Regions from separate parts of the Homo sapiens genome. Here region 1 is linked to region 2. The links are contacts of gene promoters, found by promoter capture Hi-C in blood cells and fetal thymus (Javierre and others, 2016). All regions are on one chromosome and are shown on one strand. Each heading gives the region's core, a stretch centred on a gene start or on the middle of the fragment in contact. The rest is flanking DNA. Distances are from core to core; before and after follow the strand shown.

Evidence for each region. Contacts are between HindIII fragments. The CHiCAGO score rates a contact against its expected background, and 5 or more counts as called.
Region 1: a fragment that was not itself captured here is called in contact with the fragment with the promoter of SCARA5 in region 2 in 1 of 17 cell types (M1 macrophages); the score reaches 5.1 in M1 macrophages.

What each region holds. Positions count from the first base shown.
Region 1 is chr8:28,321,914-28,326,513 of GRCh38, reverse strand. The region is part of intron 1 of PNOC (prepronociceptin); the gene reads right to left. Among named protein-coding and RNA genes, the nearest start is that of PNOC, 6.9 kb to the right of the region's middle. The HindIII fragment of the contact is 1,166 bases long and covers 1,455-2,620 here.
Region 2 is chr8:27,991,149-27,995,269 of GRCh38, reverse strand. SCARA5 (scavenger receptor class A member 5) reads left to right here and starts at 2,597. Exons shown (of 9, transcript NM_173833.6): 1 at 2,597-3,013. The HindIII fragment of the contact is 6,163 bases long and covers 2,299-4,121 here.

The DNA of each region.
Region 1 (4,600 bases), core at 788-3,287, 330 kb before region 2:
GGAAGTGCTGGTATGAGAAGGACGTGAACAAAGGAGGGACCTGCAGCTGAGCCCACCCCAGTTCTTCTTGTGCGTCATCAAAGCATTTCATACCCAGAGGATGATGACTACTGGGGTGCTCAATAAGTGTTTGTTAAATCAATGAATTGACTTTTTGTTTGTTTGAGATGGTCTCGCTCTGTTGCCCAGGCTGGTGTGCAGTGGTGCAATCACGGCTCACTGAAGCGTTGAACTCCTGGGCGCAAGCAATCCTCCCACCTCAGCCTCCCAAGTAGCTGGGAGGATTGTTTGAGCCCAGGATGCTTGGTTAGTTTTTAAATTTTTAGCAGAAATGAGGTCTCGCCATGTTGCCTAGGCTGGTCTCGAACTCCTGGCCTCAAATGTTCCTCCCACCTTAGCCTCCCAAAGTGTTGGGATTACAGGCATAAGTCACTGCACCTGGCCAATGAACTCACATTTGAGACGGGTTTTGAAACAAATAATGAACACAGTGCCTACATAAATGACTGTATCGCAAATGCATTTGAGATTAATTTTTCTTCTCTATCCCAAGGACCAGGGCTTTAGTTGAGATTTATTGCCTTGGTTATTGTAATAGCCTCCTAATTAGTCCACCTAATGATCTGGCTTCCCCCCAAGCCATCTCCAATCTGATGATGTCACCTTATATTTAAACTAATTTTATAACCTTGTTGCTGTCAGGGGGAGCTCCAAGGACTTAGCACTGACCAACTCCTGCTTCATCTCCTGGCACCTAACCTTGCATAGCCTCTAGTCTCAGCCGATCACGTGTAGCTCCCAACTGTATCAGCCTCTTAATGTCTTTCTTTTTTTTTTTTTTCTTTTTCTTTTTTTTTTTTTTGAGACAGAGTCTCACTCTGTCGCCCAGGCTGGAGTGCAGTGGCGCGATCTCGACTCACTGCAAACTCCGCCTCTTAAGTTTAAGTGATTCTCATGCCTCAGCCTCCTGAGTAGCAAGATTACAGGTGCACACCACCACATCCAGCTAATTTTTGTGTTTTTAGTAGAGACGGGGCTTCACATGTTGGCCAGGCTGGTCTTGAACTCCTCACCTCAAGTGATCTGCCTGCCTCGGCCTCCCAAAGTGCTGGGATTACAGACATGAGCCACTGTGCCTGGCTTCTTAATGTCTTTTTATCTTGGCACTTGCTGTTCCCTCTGCCCAGAATATCCTTCTCCAACTCATCCTTCACACACACCTCTAGCATCATCCCTTCTGGGAAGCCATGTCCACCCCCTGGTCTGAGTTAGATCAGTCTCCTCTGCTGCCCTGGCATCTGGAAGAGCACATCATAGTGGGAGGCCAGCGAGCCTCGGGGGCCCCATCTATCAACACAGGCACAACAGACCCACGCTGCAGAGTGGCGGTGATATGCGCTTTCTCATCTGCTAATGACTACAGACTGCCTGCTTCCGATCACAGCTCTGAAGCTTGCTAGCTGTACTTGACCTCTCATTTCCTCATCTGCAAAAATGGGATGAAATTAGTACCTATCTCAGAGGATGATTAGTGGGTTAACGTTTGTAAGCAATTAAAATAGAACTGACAGGCAATAAGAATATATACGAAAGGAAAAGAAGGAAAGAACCTGGCATGCAGCATTCACTCTAACACTCTTTTTTGTTTTTTGAGACGATGTTTCACTCTGTTGCCCAGGCTGGAGTACAGTGGCACAACCTTGGCTCACTGCAACCCACACCTCCCAGGTTCAAGCAATTCTCTTGCCTCAGCCTCCTCAGTAGCTGGGACTCCAGGAGTGCACCACCACCCCCAGCTAATTTTTGTATTATTAGTAGAGATGGGTTTCACCATGTTGGCCAAGCTGGTCTCGAACTCCTGACCTCAGGTGATCCTCCCGCTTCGGCCTCCCCAAGTGCTGGGATTACAGACATGAGCCACCATGCCTGGCCTTACATTTCTCATTCTACTAAGTTTCCGTCTTTCTAGACATTTTTGTAGAATTTGTTCCAAACAGCGTGGCTGTGCCCTCTACAGCCACATGGTGGCAGTGGCTATACGTCGCAGAAGAAAGGGAAGGGAGGAGAAAAGGAGCCGTTTCCTTTCCTTCCTAATATGAGGTTGTAATACAGAATGTGTGCATAGGCTGAGCTGACAAACTGTGACAGATGTTAGCAAAATGCTCTCTGGCTGAGGTTTTTTGTGAACTTCATTAACTGGGGCAACTTGCATGTTCAGGAAATGTTGGCTGGTTTGACTGATGCTTGCCAAAATCTGGGTAAATGGGATTTAAGGGCGAGGTATAAAAGGAAGATGAGCTTCTGGGACACGTAGTACATGTTCCATTTGATAGTCTTCCTGCAGGTGAAATGTGAGGCCCTGCAGCTTGGCACTTAGGGAGACCTTGTTGAGTGTCCTTGGCTCTAGCCAGGACCTCCCTGTGGGTCAGAGGCACGTCTACCTTTCGGACTCCAACCTCCCGACCCTTCTCTGTCTCCCCTCACTTTTAACAATTGACTCCACTGATTATTTGAGGAGCCATCCATATTCAATGCTATCCATTCCCCCCTGCAATTCACAGAATCTGCAAAATGGAGATGACCACATAGTTCCATCCACCCTACAGGTGGCTTGCAAGCTTTAAAATGAGATTAATGTCAGTGAAAACTCAAAATTATGTAAATATCGTTATAGAGACAGCATTCTGTATTTTCTCATACACTTCCCAACACCTACTACAACTGTGTTCTAGGTTAAATCAGATTTTGAACTTTGAAAACTCAGTAGATGTTTTTCATTTGTAAGAAGTCTTGACTATATCTCCATGCTGGATGATGTTCTGTATTTAAATGGAGATGAGTACTTAGTTAATTCACGAGTTGTATTTGTGTTTAAACCTTACACTGTGGACCTGTGTGACTGCAGACAAGTCCTGAGATGGTCAGTCCTTTCAACTACAAAGTGGGGATAATAACAGGTTTGTTGTTACATTGATGCTGAAACTTTATACTTTGTAACGGTGGGACTGTGTGCAAATTATTTCACTTCTGTGAGCCTCAGTCTTCTCAACTGTGAAATGGGAATAGTGACAGGTTGTTGCTATTTTTATACAACCATAGCAAACATCAGTAAATCAAAAGTTACCTGAGTAGGCTGAATTTTCCATGGCTTGTATTTCACTTCGTGAGCCAAGCTCAGCTAATACTTCTATGTGGCAATACTATATTCTGAGCGTCTCATATTGAATAAAGAAATGTTGAATTGCCTTTTCTTTTGGTAATGACACCTCATAAATTTAATTGTGCCTTGCTGTTTATAAAGATAAAATACCACTATGGCTTGGCCTTAATCGATTTGCATGTAATCTTGCTTCCAAGGGCAATATAATTAGTTGCTTATCTGTTTGGAGAATCACATATGCAGCTTTAGCCGAAGCTGGACCCTAATTGAGTTTTGTCTTATGACCTATTCGAAGTCCTGTAATTTTGATGCTGCCAGCAGAGAAGAGGGGACTGCTCTTGCTAGAGGCAGATACACCTCCATCCTTTTCATCAACCACATGTAGAGAATATTCTTGACAGGTTACCAAAAAATTTTATATTCATATATTATACAACCCTGTAATCTAGGGTTAATATCAACCCACCTTTTAAAATGAACATAAACTCTTAGAGGTTAAGCAAGTTGACTAGGATCATCCGGTTTATAAGTAGCAGAGCCAGGACTTAAACTCAGGTGTGTTGACTTCAAACCATGTGTTCTGGGAAACCATCAACTTTACACACTGTTTCTGCTTTTGGAAGATTGCCAGATTCTGATGGCATCTCATTGCGGTGGAATCTATTTGCATTTCATAGCAATCATATTGCTATGACTTTAGAGCACTATGAGCCAGGCTTTGCGCTAATTGCTTTATAAGCATCACCCTATGGGGTAAGTGCTATCATCCCCATTTTATAGTTGAGCAGATTGAGGCTTGAGGAGCTGATGTAACTTGAAGTGGCAGAGCTGGGACTTATGTCTGACCCTGCCTGTCAGTGATCCCAGCAGCTGTCTTCATGTAGGGCTTCCTCTTGTCCTGAAGTCTGTACTCCCTGTCTGATGACAACCTTTTTTATTTACTTCTTATTTTTTATTTTTTGGAGATGGAGTCTCGCTCTGTTGCCCAGGCTGGAGTTCAGTGGCGCTATCTTGGCTTACTGCAAACTCTGCCTCCTGGGTTCAAATGATTCTCCCGCCTCAGCCTCCTGAGTAGCTGGGATTACAGGTGCCCGCCACCATGCCTGGCTAATTTTTTTTGTATTTTTAGTAGAGACGGGGTTTCACCACGTTGGTCAGTCTGGTCTCAAACTCCTGACCTCGAATGATCCTCCCGCCTCAGCCTCCCTAAGGTGCTGGGATTACAGGCATGAGCCACTGTGCCGGGGCTGATGACAACCTCTTTATGGTGGCTTCTCTCCAGTCCACACAGGGATCCTTCATTATGCACCAGCTGCATGTCCATCAGAAGATAGGTGGGTCTTCCCGATGCCCCATTTCTTAGACCCATTGCAGATAAGACTCCTACAATGGAGCTTATGCTTGTTTACCAGCTATTATGGAGAGAGGCTGCTTTAGTTT
Region 2 (4,121 bases), core at 1,348-3,847:
AGAAGTTTGAGACCAGCCTGGGCAAGATAGCGAGACCTCATCTCTACAAAGGATTTTAAAAAATTAGCTGGGTGTGGTGGCATGTGCTTGTAGCCCCAGCTACTCAGGAGGTTGAGGTGGGAGGATCACTTGAGCCTGGGAGGTCGAGGCTGCAGTGAGCTATGATTGTGCCACTGTACTCCGACCTGGGTGATAAAGTGACATCCTACCTCTAGAAAAAACAAACTGAAAAAGCTTGGTCCCTCCATTTCAAATACTGAGATTTCATAGATGAAACTACTTCAGAAGTCTATTGAACCCTCCTCTATCAAGGCAATCACATTTTCATTCAGCTTCTGGGGGGGAAATGCCTACTACAAATGCCATCCGTGATTGAATGGAAGCAAATCATTTTGGGGACAATTCTGATTTTAGTGGCAAGGAGGTATCTGAGCTAAGAGCTGCCGGGAGGACTCTCACCCATGAGAAAACCAGCCCTCCAGGTCATTCCTATACTTCACTGTCAAATCTCCCTTTGCCTGTTCCGGCAGCTTTATTCATAATAGACAAAGATTGGAAACATCCCAAACCCCCTTCAGCAGGAGACCGATATACACATTGTGTGTGGTATGTGCCTATCACGCAATAGGACTCAGTGCTTCGAACAGGGCGGGAGGTGGGAGGACAAGCGAGGATGAGCGTGGAGTCCTCACATGGCAGAAAGGCAGAGGATCAAGCCAGCCCACTCCTGCAAGCCCTTTCTACGGCATCCCAAATACATTCATGACTCAAATACCCCCACAAAGGCCCCACCTCCCAACACTGTTGCAATAAAGATTACATTTCCAATGCTTGAATTTAGGGGGACACTAACTACCACATTTCTTGCTAACATACACATCTCTTTAGGGAAGGTCTTTGGACATCACTTTTTTTTTTAAGACAGGATCTTGTTCTGTTACCCAGTCTGGGGTGCAGTGGTGCGATCACAGCTCACTGCAGCCTCAAACTCCTGGGCTCAGTTGATCCTCCCATCTCAGCCTCCCAAGCACCTGGGACTACAGGTGTGCATCACCACGCCCAGCTATTGTTTGTATTTTTTTTTTTTTGTAGAGACAGGGTTTTGTCATGTTGCCCAGGCTGGTTGGACATCATATTTTGAGCACATTTCTGGCTGTTTTTAAGATTACATTCCTAGGAATGTTGGTGAATTGATGGGGGACAAAAACATTTGTTTCCCCTTGAGAGGCAATGGTACAGGGGAGGGGTTAAGAGCATAGACCCTAGGATCACATTGCCTAGGGTTGAATACTAGCTCTGCCACTTACTGGCTACAAGACCCTGGACAAGTCACTTCCTCTCTGTCTCTGTAAATGAGCATAATAGCAGCACCTGCCTCAGGGGGTTGTTGAATAGGTTCAATGAGCTAATATATAAGAAACACATGGTATATGCTATAAAGTGTTGTCTTCTTTTCCTTCTCCTCCTCCGCTCCCTGGGATTATTACCATAATGATACAATTATCATTTGTTCTTTCTGTAAAATGGAGTTTGATGTTGGAGCTGCTTCCTAGGCAGTCAGGCAGGGCAGTCACTGAGAATGAGGACGGCGTTTCTGACTCAGCTGTGGGCGGGCAGCTGCAGTGACACAGCTGAGTCTTGGCAAACACTTTTCATGTACGAAGCCTGACCCTGGAGTCTTGAGGCTGAACTTTTCACCAACAAACAGGAATGCATTCATGAATGTTACCTCTGGGTGCTGTCCTCTGGAAGCCATCTGCATAGCCTAACTCTGCCACCCTGGCTTGGACAATTATGGTGATTTCTCTGATGCCCCTGATACTACCACCTCAATCTGAATTTAGCAGCTCCCTTCACATATGGTTAGATTGCCTTTAAAGAGATTTTTTTTTTTTTTAGAGATGGGGTCTCACTATGTTGCCCAGGCTGGTCTTGAACTTGTGGGTGGGCTCAAGCAATCCTCCCACCTCAGCCTCCCAAAGTGCTGGGACCACAGGTGTGAGTCACTGCACCCGGCCTAGATGTCCTTTTTCAAACGTAAGCAATCATGCTCAGGTTTAGGATTATTCGTGCCTGGGTCCCCCTCCCATACTGAATTGCTATGGACAGCCAGCTAGTCTTCATCCTGCACCCCCCAGCCCCTGTGCAGCGTTAATGAGCCAGAAACGCTGATTCTGCTGCTGAGTTCCGTGGAACCCCCTGGGGCATTTTCCTGACTACCCCCAGTGTGGCCAATCCGTGTCCACTGAGGATGAATGTGACTCCAGGAAAATACATGAAGTAACTCTGTGCCAAGCTTGGTGAATGAATTGAGCCATGCCAATTCTGTGCTATAAATAAATTTACAAGACTGGTTTTCTTGCGTGGCTCATAAGCCAGGTCTAGCTGCCACTCCCCCAGAAGTCTTCCAAAAAGTATTTTGAGCAGGACCTTTAGACTGGGGTGTTGGAGTCCCAAGGCCAAGGCCGACCGCGCTGCTCTGGGCCCAGCGGGCGTTCCCACACGGGGCTGTAATGCCACGATTGGCCGCAGGAGGGGGGCCGTATTCCAGACCCCATTGCAGAAGCCTCCGCAACTGCTCCAAGAACTTTATTTTATACGGACTGGCGGCGAGAGCAGCTGCAGTTCGCATCTCAGGCAGTACCTAGAGGAGCTGCCGGTGCCTCCTCAGAACATCTCCTGATCGCTACCCAGGACCAGGCACCAAGGACAGGGAGTCCCAGGCGCACACCCCCCATTCTGGGTCCCCCAGGCCCAGACCCCCACTCTGCCACAGGTTGCATCTTGACCTGGTCCTCCTGCAGAAGTGGCCCCTGTGGTCCTGCTCTGAGACTCGTCCCTGGGCGCCCCTGCAGCCCCTTTCTATGACTCCATCTGGATTTGGCTGGCTGTGGGGACGCGGTCCGAGGGGCGGCCTGGCTCTCAGCGTGGTGGCAGCCAGCTCTCTGGCCACCATGGCAAATGCTGAGATCTGAGGGGACAAGGCTCTACAGCCTCAGCCAGGGGCACTCAGGTGAGTCTTGGTACTAATTTTGTCCTATCTCCTGGGCATGCTGTCTCAAAGACAGCTGGAGGAGACTGGAGTGAACTGGATGGAGAGGAGTACAGAGTTTGGGAAACTTCAGACCTAGAGCCTGGAGGTGCCTTCTCCAGGTGGGAAGGTCCCCGCCTGCTGGGCCCGCAGATATCTGCCGGGCCCTCATCCAACTGCCTGGGCTGGAGAGAATGTGAGCCTGCATTTGGGGTGCCAGAGGGAAGCTATTGCCTTGGTGGCTACTCCACCTGACTCATGTCACAGCTCAAGAGCCTACTCAGGGTGCAGATGGCTCAGGTGACAGCTCCTCTCCATGGCTTCGTGTGTGTGCATGTGTGTGTGTGCATGTGTGTGTGTGCATGTGTGTGTGTGTGCATGTGTGTGTGTGTGCATGTCTGTGCGTGTGCATGTGCCAGTGGTGGGATATATGTGGGGAGAGGTTATTTCTAAAATATCTGTCTCTGTCCAGCTTTGGGTTATGATTTAGCTTAACTAAGTACAGTTAGAGGAGGAAAACATTTAAAACCTCCTTAGTGATTCTCTCTTTGGAGAAGGGCCACACTCATGTGATTTTTTTCCTTGGTTTTGATGAGTTTAAAGTGAGGTAATCCAAAGAAAAGCCATAAACCCTGCAGAGTTAGATGCGGGTACCCAGAGAAACTGACTTGGTAGCAGCAAATGAGGCTCGTGCTACCCACTCAGAGGAGGAATTAATGGAGTCCTTCTGATCTCCAGAGAAGGATTGAAGAGCCAGGGTCCTGATATCAGCCCTAGAGTGCATTCGCGATTGCCTTTTACAAAGGGAACTTCAAACAGCTTTGTTTCTGAGACTGGCTAGGTAGGAGGGAGGCCTTGGGAACCTGGACACCCCCTTACCTGGCTGCCAGGCAGAGTCAGAAGATGCTGGGGGATGCTTTTTCTCATCAGACTGCCACCAGCTCCCCTGAGTGACCTTGTTCATAAAGTCATGCCACATGCATTATCTCACGGGAGGCTCACAGTGATCCTGGGTGACCAGCAGCTACCCACCTTCCCATCTTAGAGGTCATGTACCTGAGGCTGAATGAGGTCAGGTAATTGAGCCAAG